2 separate regions of the Homo sapiens genome follow, and region 2 is linked to region 1. The links are contacts of gene promoters, found by promoter capture Hi-C in human tissues and cell types (Jung and others, 2019). All regions are on one chromosome and are shown on one strand. Each heading gives the region's core, a stretch centred on a gene start or on the middle of the fragment in contact. The rest is flanking DNA. Distances are from core to core; before and after follow the strand shown. Region 1 holds the start of PCDH19 (protocadherin 19). Region 2 has its middle 340 kb from the start of PCDH19.

Region 1 (7,362 bases), core at 484-2,983:
CAGCCTGCGTCCACAGTATGGCCAGCAGCAGCAGCACCGGCAGCAGGAGCGACTCCATGGCTGCACGGGGCTCTGCCTGGCCTCGCCTCTCCACACCCCTCCGAGACCGACGCCGTCGGCGCTCCAGCTTCCCGCCGGCTCGGGCCGCCTGTTGCGCGCGCCCCGTGGCCCCGGAGGCCGCGGGAGAAGTCCCGCCCAGGGCGGCCCGGCGGCGCGCGGGGGACACCCGCGGCGGCTCCAATGCTGAGGTTGCGGCGGACGCGGCGGGGGCTCGCGGGGGCCCCGGGGGCTCCGAGGGGCCAAGGGAGCGCCGCGCGGCCCCGAGCCCCCTCCCTCCAGCCCGGCTACTCAGTTTTACCCCTTCAAAGTTAGCCGGGCGCGACTGTCGGCAGCCGCCCAGGGCTGCGGGTCGGGCGGCGTCTGCGCGGCCTGGAGGACGCACCGCTGAGTCCGGACAGTACTTGAGGCGAAGGTAAAGAGGGCGGAGGAGGCGCAGCCTTTCAGGCACTGCCCGGCCCGCCGCGGTGCACCGGCACTGAGGCTGGCGAACTCGCTGTCTGTGCACCTGGCATGCGCAAAGACCTCCCCCCAGCGCTCCCAGTTCACTGCGGAGAGAGTACCCGCTTGGAATGCGCCCTCCGGGGTCTGGGGGGGCCACACTGGCCTCTTCGAGGCCTGTTCGGGAGAAAGGGGGTGTCGCAGACGGGAGTCAGTTACTGGCAAGCGCCGCGGGCACCCGGTTATAGGGTTGAGTCGGATGGCGGTCCCGGGGCCAGCAGAGGAAGGGGGAGGGGAGAGAGGCTGCCAGAGCTTGAGCGCGCTCCCTCGCGCTAAGGCTGGCTTCGAAGGGCTTGGGGGCGCGTCTGTCCAGGATCCGAGGTGGGAGCGGAGTTCCCCCCACAGAGCAGTTGAGGGTCTGCGGGCGTTTTCGTCTAGGAAATCAAAGTTAACAACGCAGTCCGACCCTCCACGTCAAGTTTGTGGAAACGGGGAGATGGCAATTTGTCCAAGAAAATCAAAGCCCCGGTCTTTCTAATGGCCGGGGGTGGCGGGGAATGGGGAAGAGGGAAGGGGAGGCAACAACAGTACCGGCCAGGAGAGGCGGGGCCGCCGCCGTGGGTACCGGGTGCTTCTCTTCTCTCCGTTTGGGCTGGGGTGTCGCTCCAAGGTCCGCCGCCGCCGCCGCCGCCGCCGCCGCCGCGGGAGGAAGCCCTCCTAGCTCAGTTGCACGTCGCTGGGGTCCGCCTCAGCAGCTGCCACAGTCGACGATTTTGTCGCCGCCGAAGTTTACTTGCAGGAGCGTCTTGATTTCATCTTCCCGGAGAGGCGCTGGCCGCGCTGCGTTGGGCTCCCTTCCTCCCGGGCGCTCGCGCACTCGGGAGGTCTGTCTCGCTTTCTCTGTCTGTCTCGGGCTGTGTGTGAATGTGTGAGAGAGAGAGGAAGAGTGAGTGTGTGGTGTGGGGAGTGTGAGTGTGGAGTATGAGCAAGCAGGAGGCAATGGGTTTGGGGTAGGAGGTTTAGGATTTCGGATGAAATCGCTCAGCCGGAATGCTGCGGAGCGCAACGCGCCAAGGGCCAGCGCCGGGCTAGGGACGCGGGTGCCAGTGCCTCCCGGGCAAGCCAGGCATGGTGCACGGGAGCTGTGCTGCCGTCTGTGCCCGCTCGTCCGTCTCCGCGCTGCGCCAGCCGCCGCCGCTACTGCTGCTGCTGCTCCTCCGGATGCCGCAAACTACTGGCCGCGGAGTCTGGAGAAAGCCGGAGAAAGCTCAAGCTGCCGAGCCCGGCTACGCCAGGCCCTGGCCAATCAGCGCGCCGCCAGCGGGCTCCAGTCTTGGGGCGGGGCCAAGCGGAGGCGGGGGGTAGCGGGGGGGCGGGGCCAAGCGGAAACTTCACACCGGCGGGACCAAGTGGTACCCCGGCCCATGGAGCCCTGGCGGGATTCATGGGAGGACGGACAGACAGGCCAGGCAGGCCAGGCAGGAGCAATAGGGCAGGAATGAGCAGGGAGGCGGTGTGCTGGCGCTGCGGCTGAGCCTCGCCGGGAACTGTGCGCTTCTCATGTTTGCAGAGATTTCAGGAAAGATGAGGATGATATGATTGTCTTATCGTGTTTACCTCCCTTACATATCTTCATATCTTGAATATAATATATACATATATATACACATATATATATATATACACACATATATATATCCCTCTATTTCTCCTTGTCTCTTCACCCTAAAAAATCGTCTGTTTTTGTTTTCCTCTCTTCTCATTCTCTGGTAGTGGAAGGAAGAAAGGGAAGGAGAAAGCGCCCCTGAGGTGGTCATTCATCCAGCTCTTAGCCGGTGTGTCTTCACATCAGGCCAGAGCCACGGCCGCCACCCCCCCGGACCGTCACCCCCATCCTTCCACCCCGGGCAGACGCCGCACTACTCTCTGCGTGCCGCACTCCCAGCAGGGCCCCTGGATCGGTTCGCTCTTGTCTGTTGCTTGTTAATCAAATGGGATATGTGGCACAGAGAATGAGCTACGGAGGGGGCCGGACACATTTCATTGCCCCTCACCCCACCCTGTTGGAGAATTTAGCTCCCTATAAATAAACTGTACGTTTGAGAAGAGCCGGTGGAGCGGACGCCGCCGCGCCGCGCCAAGCCAGCAGAGCTCAAAGCCGGGCAGGAGCTCTGGGGCGGGCACGCCATACATGTCCGCTTAGGTCGCCGACAGCTGGGAGCCGGCGCCGATGTGCAGGGCGCCCCAGCCTTCCCGCGGGGTCTCGGTCCCAGGGGGCTGCCAGCTCCACTTGGGCGGCGGTGGTGGCTGCGGCATGTGCCAGTACTGGGAAGCGGGAGGCCGGCGTGGCCAGGGCTGACATCAAGCTCATCCTGCCTTCTGCACTGAAGGCTCCCTGGGGGCAGCGGGGCATTCCTCCCCACCCGGGCTCTGAGGCTTTTAATTAAGGTCGCCAGCGGCAAAAAAATCAAAAACGTGCCCGTTAAACAAGTTTTTTTTTCTCTTAGAATGTGGGGAAGCTGCTTCTGAATTCACAATTCTTGGAAGAGTAAAAATGTCTTCTGAGTGAGTCGTCTCGGATATTTGGGAGTGGGATAAGCAGACTCATAATTAGCCCAGCGACATTGGCTCGAGCCTGTGGGCTTCACATGAGCGTCATTTTTGCCCTCTAAAAAGCGTTAAACAAGAAAAGGAAACCGGCATTTGGACACATAATGGGTTTTCTCAAAACTGCCATCTTCTTGTGGAGAGCAACCCAGCTGCTTTTTAAAATATTTTTCCTTCCAAGAAGAGCTACTTTAGCAGCCTTTACCTTGGCGGTGGGAGAGGGGAAAGGCGGCTTCCTCTTACAGAAAGAAATTATTTCGCGAGTGAGATTGCGATCCCCTGAATATGTAGCCGAGGCCAAAGGGAGAGCGTAGGGAGCCTGATCCGCTTTCCGCGTGGGGGTCGTTTCACTGTTTCACGTTAGGATGTGATTCGGCCCAGAACAACAGGGAGAAAACCGATGCTTCTGCAATGAGTATCATTTAATTTTGGTCATTTAGAGCTGCGGGTGGACACCAGAGTGGTGGCTCAAGGGAGCCCGGTGGCCCGACCGGTTTTCTCCAGACACCGTTGGAGAAATGGGCAAGTAGTAGAGAATGACAACATGGCAGGCAGCGGTGGGCGCACCTCGCGGGCTCCGCGAAAGGAAGGGTTCCATTTGATTTATCACAGTTATTTACCTTTGATGTCAGAGCATGGGAATGAAGTGCATCTTGGTCTAATTAAAAAGGCCTAAAAAGGCATTTGAAATGGGTTTGCTATCTGATCACGGGATGTGAATTCGGCGTTTGGCAGCTTTCTAAAATATTGCTTGGACTATTTAAACAGAACAATTAGCAGCATGCTAAAATGTTTGCATGCTATGCTTAGAAGCTTTTAGCTGTAAACTTTAAGGCGATCTGTTCCCCCTTTAAGTTAAAAAAGGATGATGCTGCTTCCTTGTGGCGAAGGCTGTCAGGAACCCACTGATCAATAAAAGTAAACTGGCGCCTCCACGGCTTGATTGAGCGGGAGCAAAGAGTCTGAGAAGTAGTCTCGGCCATTAACAATCCCCCAGGTAACGAGAAATGGAAGAATTACTCAGGTAAAATGATTAACATTGTCGTAGCATCTGAAAAGATGCACACAACAAGATAAGAAGACTGCAGACCTCTTACCTTAGGGAGTGCTAATAGAATGTCTATATTCTGCTGTCTTTTAAAGATAAATAGGAGAATTCAATTCATGTACAATGTCATTACCTTCATAATTGCAATCACAATGTAAAGACATGTTCTGCATTTGCAAAGACAAACCCTCTTTGCTAAGGCGATGCCACCGTGTTCCCTGCTTCCTGCTCGCTGTTCACACTCCAGGCACCCCTCTTTTCCAAGGAGAGCATCCAAGTACTTCCAGCTACCAAACCACTTTTACACAAGCCAGGTGCTAAGGGAGGCAGGGGCGTGTGCCTATGCTTTCCTTCTTTCCTATTATCTCCTCCCCACCCCTAATCTCAAAGTGACAGTTACACAGCCTTCCCCATCCCCACACACAAAATAGCTCTTCCATCCCCCAGTCTATTTCTACAGATAATCCTAACAACAGCCTTTGCCCTCAGAATTTCTTTTTTTCTAATAGGCACACTCGATCATTATACTCCAAGAATGCCATTGACTAAATGAGTAGCCCAAAACACTTTCATGATCAGGAATTTATTAACTAACTGAATAAAATCGTTCTGCATGTAGATAATAAAAACAAGAAAGTTCTCTCCGTTTTAGCTTCCCTTTACTTCAATCCTGAAGGGAGCCCCGCCTCCTCAGCCTCTTTAGAGACACAAGAGGGACATCTAGTGACCATCCTCAGTATTTTTTAATCCAACAGCTACTAAGAAATACTAATACTAATGGTGCTATGCCGCCTACGGCTGCTCTCCAGGTCAAAGCAGCTCCACTGAGGCCAGAATCAAAATTGGCAAAGAGAATTTTTTTTGTCTTTAAAATGTCATCCATGCCACTAAAATCATGCTGAATGGCAATAAAAGAGGACCAAAATGGGAGAAATCTTACTTTTAGATCAAACCAGTATGTGAAGCTAATTCTTGTTCTCCTAAGATTGATAAGGGTATGGTGAAAGGTTTTGTCCAGAAAGGTGAAAAGTAATGGTAGGAACCAAGATACCAGTATATGAGGGACTGTAACTCTGACAAGTTTAAGGAAGCTTTCTGAGATGTGTTTGTTTTGTTCTGTTGTTTTAGAGACAAGGTGTCATTCTGTCGCCCAGGCTAGAGTGCAATGCTGCAGACATGGCTCACTGTAACCTCAAACTCCAGGGCTCAAGCAATCCTACCACCTCAGCCTCCTGAGTAGCTAGGATTATACAGGTGTGCACTGTCACACCTGGCTCATTCTTTTCATTTTATTTTTTGTAGAAATGGGGTATCTCTCTGTTGTCCAGGCTGGTCTCAAACTGGCCTCAAGCAATCCTTCTCCCCTGGCCTCCCAAAGTGCTAAGATTACAGGCATAAGCTACTGTGCCCTAGCCTGAGATATGTTTTTTTTTTTTTAATGTTTGCTTTAAGCTCAAAAGAGATTAGCCTTCAAATAACTCCAGTCTCTCTCTTTCTCTCCTCCTCCTCCTCCTTCCTTTTGCCCCCTTCTCTTTGCCCTGGCTGCAGAAAAGTGGGTCATCTTCTAGCTTGGCTTTCACTGCATATCATGGGGATCCCATTCCACCCAACTAGTTTGACCAGCTGCCTGATGAGGTTCTCTTAGAAAGAAAAAATTGATTTTAAAATTAGCAAATTCAATCAAACTTCTTCTGACTGCATATCTGATCTCCTTACTTAGGTTACAATGCCTAGAGAAGAGAACATCAAAGAATGAAAATGGAGGAAATGGGAAAAAAACTATAAAGTGTCATTATTAAAGTCATCATCTTATTTAATTTTTACAATATCCCTGGGAGATAAAGACACTTTGCAGATGTGGAAACAGTTGCAGAGCAGTTCAACGATTTTCCAAGACGACCTCATTACACAAAACTCAACCACTTCCCTCGTGAGATCAACAAGTGTTGGCTTTTTGTCCAGCATTGTGTTAAGGATTGAGAATTTTTTTTAGTGGACCTTGCCCTTATGTAGTTTAACATGCAGTTGATTAATTTAATAACAGCATGTATGTCTATGTACTATAAATTTTCCTAGAGGAGAAACTAGGATGAGATATATTATGTCGACAGCTTCCTAAAATTCTGTTCTCTTCTGCCCACAATGATTGCCCGATTTCTAGATAGTCCTTCCCTCCCTTCCTGCCTCCCCCGCCACTGTCCCAGACAGTATAAGGAAAGGCATCAACAGCAGCAATCAGGGATGTGGACCTGCTGGGCAGGGGTGGGGTTATCCTGGATGCTGTTTCTAACCCTTCTGGAACACCAAGAAGACTAGGACAGAGGCCAAGAAAAACCTTTGAGGTCCCTCACACTTTTCCCTCTCTTCCTCTCAAACTCCACCCCTTTTCCTACCCTGTGACAGAGGATAACATTAACAGCAGGGAGCTGTAGCAGATAAACAAAGTAGAGAAAGTGTTTCTTAAGTGCTAAAATTGTTCACCATGGCCCCGATGCCTGCCTTTTCCAAGAAACACAAGAGATGTGCGGGACAGTGGAGAAAAAGAGACTGAGAAAGTTATTAATCACTTCATGTCTTCCCATTTTGACAAGGCCAGCATCCTTGAACAAGCTATGTCCAAACTTCCTCCATGCCTTATCCCCTCCCTTTAGGAATGGCACTTCCCACAGGACCAAACCCCTGCTGCTGCCAAACTCGTAACTGTCCCTAAATAAGCACACGTCATGGGGACTATTTAATTAGCAAAGGCTAAATCAGCAGATACATTTCAATAAATGACACTGCTCTCTAACACCTTTTGTACTGCCCTGCAGTGATCACCTGTGATGTTTTGACAGCACCATTTGGGCTCTCAGCATTATTGCCTCAATCTTTTCATGTGAATTTTCTCCAAGTGGACCCCAAATGCTGGTTTCCTAGGTGCAACCTCATGTCAGCTGTTACTCCCCACATCACCACTTTTGAAAACAGAAAGCTCTCCCTTCAAAGGCACTCTGATTAAATCATGGCCAGCCTTCCCACTGCTGACTCCCTCATCCCAAGGAGGAGGGTAAGGGTGACATTCCACAGCTCCCCAGAGGAAATGCTTTTTTGACAGCTTGAAAAAAAAAAAAACTATCACCAAATTGGAGACCTCAAAAACCACCGAAATATGAACCACAACGATACAAAGAATACGTAATTGAAAGTGAGCAGACTTTCACTTGGGA
Region 2 (7,362 bases), core at 1,439-3,938, 340 kb before region 1:
AAGATAACCACAGATACAGGATGGAAGAGCCCCCATTAAAAATTAGTATAGCTTGAGAGACCTGGAATTTATAACTGACTATAAGCTAAGTATGAATCAGCATTGCAATACTATTGCAAAGATGCCCCAGGAATGTACTGAAAAATAATACACTGAGCAAGTAGCTAACATTTATTGGGCTTTTTCTGAGTGCCATGCAGTTTATTAGATGTTTTGTACATACATCTCATTCAATCCTTCCAATATCTTATCACATAAAGTAATATATTTAGCATATATATAGCACCTATATAGGTTTTATATATTTATTTATGTACACAAATGTATTTATATATGTTTAGCAACATCTCACATGTGAGAAAACTGAAGTCCCAGTCTTAACTCTTTCTTAGAATTCCTGTGGATATTGAGAAAATGTCTACTATAGTCTTGCAGAGTAAGGTGTTGTTAACACTGGAATCTAAATTAAGTCTTTTTCTTCTCCCTTGTATAATCTTTTCTTTCCGAATAAAAGTGCACAAATGGCTATATAGGACAAATGATTTTGCCTTGTGATCTACTTTGATTTATTAGTAAAACTACAATGATGAATCATATTTAATTATGATCATTAAGAGTGATAAATCAAAACATGCAAATTGCCTGTTCATCACAGAGATCATGAAAAATGTGCATTTTTGAATTCTGATGCTGAGAGAAGTAACCAAGTTTTCTGTCTGATCCAAAACAGCTTGCATTCCCTATTGAAACGTCAGAGAATGTCGAGAATCTGAGCGTTAGATGAACTTTAGAGGGTCCATCTTCCAGCCTTCAGGCAGCTGGATAGGAAACATTCCAGGACCAGTTATCAAGTCTCTTGAAGTCAATCAGCAAAATATTTTAGCTCTAATAATATCAATCTTTCACATGTTTTTCATTCTCTCCATGTTTACACAGTACCTAAAACAGCTCTTAGATTATTTTGTGAATTGTACAGCCTTCTGTAGCCAGCTTTGAAGCAATTTTTTAAACCAGGAACAGGCTAATCAACAGTCTTTGGTTGCCCATAGTGAGTTTTCTACACCTTGATAACCATAAAGGTTTTCATTATTTTCAATAGAAATTTCTACTGCTTCTGTTTTAAGCACTTTTCCATTTTTAAATCTCTGAATAAAAAAGCTATTAAATATCTCTCCCCATAACAACCATTGAAGATGAGATTCCAATTACCTCTTGCCTTTAAAGTAAAATCCCTATCCCAGTAGCATGTTCTCATATGAAAAGAAAAACCCATTCTAATCTTGTTTACTACTCTTCTCTGAATTTTTCAGTTTTGCATCTCTATTTTAAAAGTATGGTGAAGTTGCCACATAGTAAGCACCAATATATGATAGCTATTATTACTATTATTATACCAGATGAAAAAGGAAGATACACTAGACCAATTATCAGAACATGACTGTTGAGCATAGTTCAAACCAACAGTTTAAATCTGCGAACTGGGGTACTCAGGAAGGAAAAGCTGGAACTCAAGAGTCAATACAGAAGAACAGTTGTCAGCATTAGAATACTGTGTCACAGGTCCTGTAGGCCACTAGTCTGTATAGTACAGACAAATACAAAGTGACTTAAGAACACTATAGGAGCCCAGAGATCAGTGCTAGGCAATCGTTTCCTGAGTAGACCAGCAGGGAGAATAACAATCAAAAGCTTTAAAGGGGGATTGGTTTGGGAACTGAAACAAAGCTGAAACTACAGGGGGGTAATTCACTAGGCCACACTGGGGGAATCCCAGAAGGTAGAAGCAGAAAAAAATTGAGGTTTCTTTGGTAAGAACTAAGATAAAGGTGTGCTCTTTGATAAGAGAAAGTACTTTGCACATAGCAATAGACACGTACTATTCTGCTGTTTACTGTGAGTCAAGTACCATTATAGATACTTTATTTTGACAATAAGAAAACATTAGAATCCCAAGAGTCTTGTGTACCTTTATATAAGAAATTATCCAAGTTATACTCTCCAAGGGTGAAATTAAGGAATTAAACTGCCCAACAAACTACATGTTTTTTATTATGCCAACAGAGAAATGCTGAAAAAACAATTATTGCTAACAACATGGAAATCTAATCCACTAGAGAGTTCTCCATGTTTTATAGAACCTCAGAGCTAAAAGGAACCTGAAAGACCATCGAGGTCAATCTCCTATTAAATTCATGAAAGAACTCTACCACCACCCAGACCTCTGGTCATTTAGCATTTATTTAAACACTTCTATAGAACTGAGGCGCACATTAAATTTTCAAATTGTTTCAAGTTTTATATTTGAACCAAACTCTGCCCTCTGATACTTATTCATCTTTACGAGTTTGCATAGATGTGGATCCAAACAGCCACTAAAGAGAAATCTAAATCTAATCCTTCCCCCGTCTGAAAATCCTTGTCAGTAAAGGGCACTGACATTGCCTTGCCAACTGGTAAAGACTTTAACCTCCTACATCAAAGCTTTTCTTGATCATTCATATATTGTATAAGTGGTAAATATGGTCAAGTCCACATGAAAACCAACTTCTGCTACTGAAGTGGCACAGTTATTAGATTTAGAACTCTCTTCAGTGAAATATTATGTCTAATTCATTACCGTGTCCTGAATATCACCAGACCCTGGAACATATTAGATGATGAACACCTATTTTTGATTGAGGCAATGCAGTTTCAACAGAAGCAAAAATACATATATAATCAAAGGTCAAAACATGTTTTGACTACAGTACAAGGTAAACTAAGCTAAGATCCTAGAAGACAGGTTGTCCTATTATTTCCAAACTATTCCTGACTCATTAAGGGCAATATTTTAATTTATAATATCAGGCTTATACATGCTTTTTACTTTCTGTGTATATTTACACATTGCCTAAAAATCATTACACTAAATTGTTTTACAGAATTGTACAAATGTGTAGACAAACAAAATAAGAAAAATAAACTTTTAAGCATTTTTTAAATCTAAAGGGAAATAATATGATTCTTTTACAAATCGAATGTGATGTTTACTACAAAAGAAAAATGATGATGGTGGTGATGATGATGGTGATGATGATGATGATGATGATGATGATAGCAGCTAACATTTATTGAGCATTTGCTACATGCCAGATACTGCACTCTTACATACATTATTTCATTTAAGCCTCATGAGTCATATAGTATCATCTCTGTTTTAAAGACAGAAGATAATACAGTGTAGAGTTTATGTGACTTACCTAAAGTCACACAGCAAGTTTGGAGCTGGAATCAAACTCAGGTCTATCTACTCTTAACATGTGTTAATTATATCTTTGAAAACAAACCATAGCAAGAATCCTTAAGAACATGACTAGTGACTAGATCCACTTCCATCCTTGTTCTTATGTTCAATCCTTTAATGATTTCACCTTGTTTAAAGCTAGATTGTCTCCATGAATTTTTGTCTACTTAGGCCCTGTCAAAATTATATGCAGTAACCTTAGGAAGCCAAAAGAGGCACCACTTACCTAAAAATTGCTCCATTTAGGATAGGAAAGCAAATTACCTAATTACCAGGCTATATGCCACTTTCTAGAGTTGCTCTCCTTTCTCTTGCTGCAATAGAATGATAGATGGAAACTGGCCAAGAGAAAAATCACTGGTGATGAATTGTGGTCACAAGCCACATGAAACACATTTAAAAGTGTCTAGAAATAAAGTTGAGTTTGTTCCAGGTAGAAACACAGACACACCCAAAAACATCTGCACCAAACAATTCTATCACAGAACTGCCTATCCCAGAGACTAAGTTCAGTCCAGAGGTTTTGAAAGCAGTGAAAATGTGATCCAAGGAAGCAAGGTCAACCCCACAAAACATGTCATCACATTTGCTCCTTCAATATGTACCTATGCTTTTTCCTTTGGAGAAAGGAAACAAATAGCCAGAGAAGTATTGCAGTATTATATTTTCCTGTTAATGTATCTAACCAATACAGAAGTAACATGATGAGTGGTGTCAGCACAGGATTTGGAATTGGACAGGCATGGATTAAACTTTCCAGTTCTGCAATGGCCACTTATTATAACTTATATGATGAGTGGTGTCAGCACAGAATTTGGAATTGGACAGGCATGGATTAAACTTTCCAGTTCTGCAATGGCCACTTATTATAACTTATATGGTGAGTCAGCATTAGCTCTCTGATCCTCATCTGTAAAATGTATGTATTACATATAAATATTATATAATTATATGTGTATGTATATATACTTGTTATATTTATATACACACATACATGTATACACATCTTCATAGGTTATAAACATTAATAATATATAATAATAAAGTGCCTGCCATATAGTAGGTTCTTGATAGCAAATTTAGTGGGTATAAATTTTTCTCCACACACTTGTGCATATTAGAAACATCAATTTTTGTTTAACCTTAACCAAATTTTACTCTGAGCCCTCATTCTACTGGACCTGCAGTAAATTAAATGGCCTTCATTACTGTACATCCCAACAGTCTCCCATAGAGCAGAACATTGGGGAAGGTTGCTGATTATAGGTTTACACCAGGCACCACTTATAAATTCTCATTGGACTTTTAAAATTGGACCACTCAATAGCTTCTGTACAATCCTGGACATAGGAATTTTTGTGAAGAATAGGCCTCAGATTTAGCATCCTTAGGTATACCACACAGCCTTCTAGACACACACACACACACACACACACACACACACACACACACACAGCTCAAGCACTTCAGTTTTCTTGATAACCCAATCCACAATCCCCTAACTAGTTTCAAAGTCTGTTCCTTCACTATCCTGCTGCTTCTTCCAACCCACTTTCAAAGGCCTCGCTTCTGGACTTCTCCTTCCAGTTAAGCTCTCTGGAAAGTCTCTTGAGTTGAGGCTTTCCGAAAGCCAATCATCGTATTCATAAACTTGACAAGATAAACTACACGCCACCCCTAGGCAAAGCCACAGAATGTTCTATCTCCTAGAAATAAAAAAGAAAATACAACAAAAAATATATAACTATTTTTTGTTTCTTCTAGAAAATAAGAAAAATAAATAACCCACACTATTTTCAATGATCCTGCCCCACTGTTGTCATAGTATATCATCACCAGACCAAATGGCAAAGTAGGAGAAACGGGTCCTTCATTCTGATGTCTTCTCTTCTTCTCCTTTAGAGTCCTTCACTCCTAGGCAGGCACCCAAAGCCCTTATAGGTCTTGGTGCCACATCCATGCCTATGGATACCAACTCATCTTGGTTTGCCCAGGACTGATAAAACTGAAAGTCCTGCATCCCAGGAAACCCCCCAGTCTTAGGCAAAATGGGAAGATTAGTCACCCTAGGCATAACTTCCCTCCAGAGGTATCACTCCATCTAATGATCTTTGGTTCCACTGTTAAAATCCATGCTCTCTTTGCTAGCTAATCTGATAAATAAATTCAAAGTAAGGTATTAATGTATCACTTCTCCCAAAAAAATCAGCAATTTAGCTAGGATATACAAATCATAACATAGCTATATTAGGTGGTATGGCAGGGCTGATGCCAGAAAAATACCAAGGGGCCAAACATATTTTCAGAACACTTGAAATCTCACCACTTGGGTGCCACCTATTTGACCTATGGGTGGAGCTAACACATGAATCTAATTGAATTATTAGACTCTCAAACATCTTGCTTTAAAAAACAACCCAGGAACTTTTAAAAATAAAGTCAAATACCTCATGTTCTCACTTATAAGTGAGATCTCAAAAAGAATGTGCAATGATAAACATTGGAGAATTGGAAGGGGGAGGGTGGAAGGGAGGTAGATGATGAGAAATTACTTAATGGGTACAATGTACCTTATTTGGGTGATGGATACACTAAAAGCCAAGACTTCACCACTACCCAATATATTCATGTAACAAAAATGCACTTGTACCCCTTAAATTTGTTATTTACCTGGATCTCATCCCAGAGCCATCAAGTCAAAATTCCTGGGGTGGGGAGTGATCCAGGACTCAGGCACTGGATTTTGTTTTTAAAGTTCCCTAGGTGATTTTAATGTGCAGTCAAGGTTGAGAGCCACTATCTTAGAGCCTTTGAGAGTTTAGGCAAGCAGACATCACCTCGTATACTCTTCCCAATGAGCAAAGTAAAAATGGGAAACTAAAGGCTGCCTTTATTAGATTTTTTGCAAAGACTGATCAATTCCTCCTTGCCAAATGCATTGTATCCCACAATGAAAACACTGTAATAGATGCTCACTTATTGATTGAGAACAAGAGTCCTCTGGTGTTTTCACCTTTATCTTTTGGACACCATATTATAGCTTATTTATAGACATCCAATCCTCAATCACACCTGCACTAGAGATGTTCATTCAGTATATGCTTCAGCATCCATCCCATGACCCTGGAACCTGGACTATAATAATTAGCAACCTGGTGACAAGGCAAGTTACAAGGCATTCCTGGCACCTGCTGAATCTGGAAATATCCATAATATTACCCATTTGAGCTGCTGGTTGTGCTGCCTTTGCTGGGTCTTGATGAGCTATGTTAAAAAGTCTCTGTTTGATACTTTCTTGCAAATTCAAACAGATGCTTCCCATCTTATGACTCAATGATGCATAATGCAAACCTAAAGCAGTAAAATTGAGGGCACTTAAGTTTTTAATCAAATTAGAAGTCCATGACTTGACTTCTGTGGCACTAGCACTAAAGGTGGCAAATAGAACCTTGGCTCAGAGGATTTTAATCTCAGTCTTGACAGAGAGGAGCCTACCTATTTTCCTTGAGAAGCATTTTGCCTTCATTGCCTCTTTAATTCTTTTGAGATCATAAATGTGATTGCTCACTGGTGATGTGTTGTGCTGATAGATGCACTTGCCCATTAAGTTTGACCCTAGACTATCATCAAATTTCCCATAGTGCATCTACCAAGTTTCATTACTGACTTGGGTCAGATTGAAATTATCAGGCTAAAGCTAAAGTCCCTTGACCCAGTTCATTCCTCCTTGCTATCATTCTGTAAGGGATTTCATTTTTTTCCTTACAGAATTTTGCTGCAGAATCTGAGAAGGTTAGGAAAACAGGATATTCAGATGAAAGGAAGATAATGATAATTGGATCTCTACCCCACCCCATCTCACCCCCAAACTAATCAATTTTTATATTGCCAACTGTGTCAATTCTTATATTTATAATAAATTTTCAGAAACACAAAATGGTTGCATGATCTTCTGTGAAACTAGTACTAAGTGGGTGATACTTTCTTAACGGATGCATAAGCCTCTGACAGAATGATTCTGTGAGGATCACAGACAACAACCAGCACCCCTTCACTGCCAGCAGATGGCTCAAGTGAAA

Evidence for each region. The method cuts DNA at HindIII sites, captures the fragments that hold promoters and counts their contacts. A contact is called where the count stands out against the background at its distance.
Region 2: a contact is called between a fragment that was not itself captured here and the fragment with the promoter of PCDH19 in region 1, in 1 of the 25 tissues and cell types used here (adrenal gland).

The regions. Positions count from the first base shown.
Region 1 is chrX:100,408,540-100,415,901 of GRCh38, forward strand. It overlaps PCDH19 (protocadherin 19), which reads right to left and starts at 1,734. Exons shown (of 6, transcript NM_001184880.2): 1 at 1-1,734. The coding sequence starts at 58. The HindIII fragment of the contact is 11,006 bases long and covers 1-4,581 here.
Region 2 is chrX:100,068,880-100,076,241 of GRCh38, forward strand. No RefSeq gene overlaps it. Among named protein-coding and RNA genes, the nearest start is that of PCDH19, 340 kb to the right of the region's middle. RefSeq lists an enhancer at 1,232-2,177. The HindIII fragment of the contact is 6,682 bases long and covers 1-6,029 here.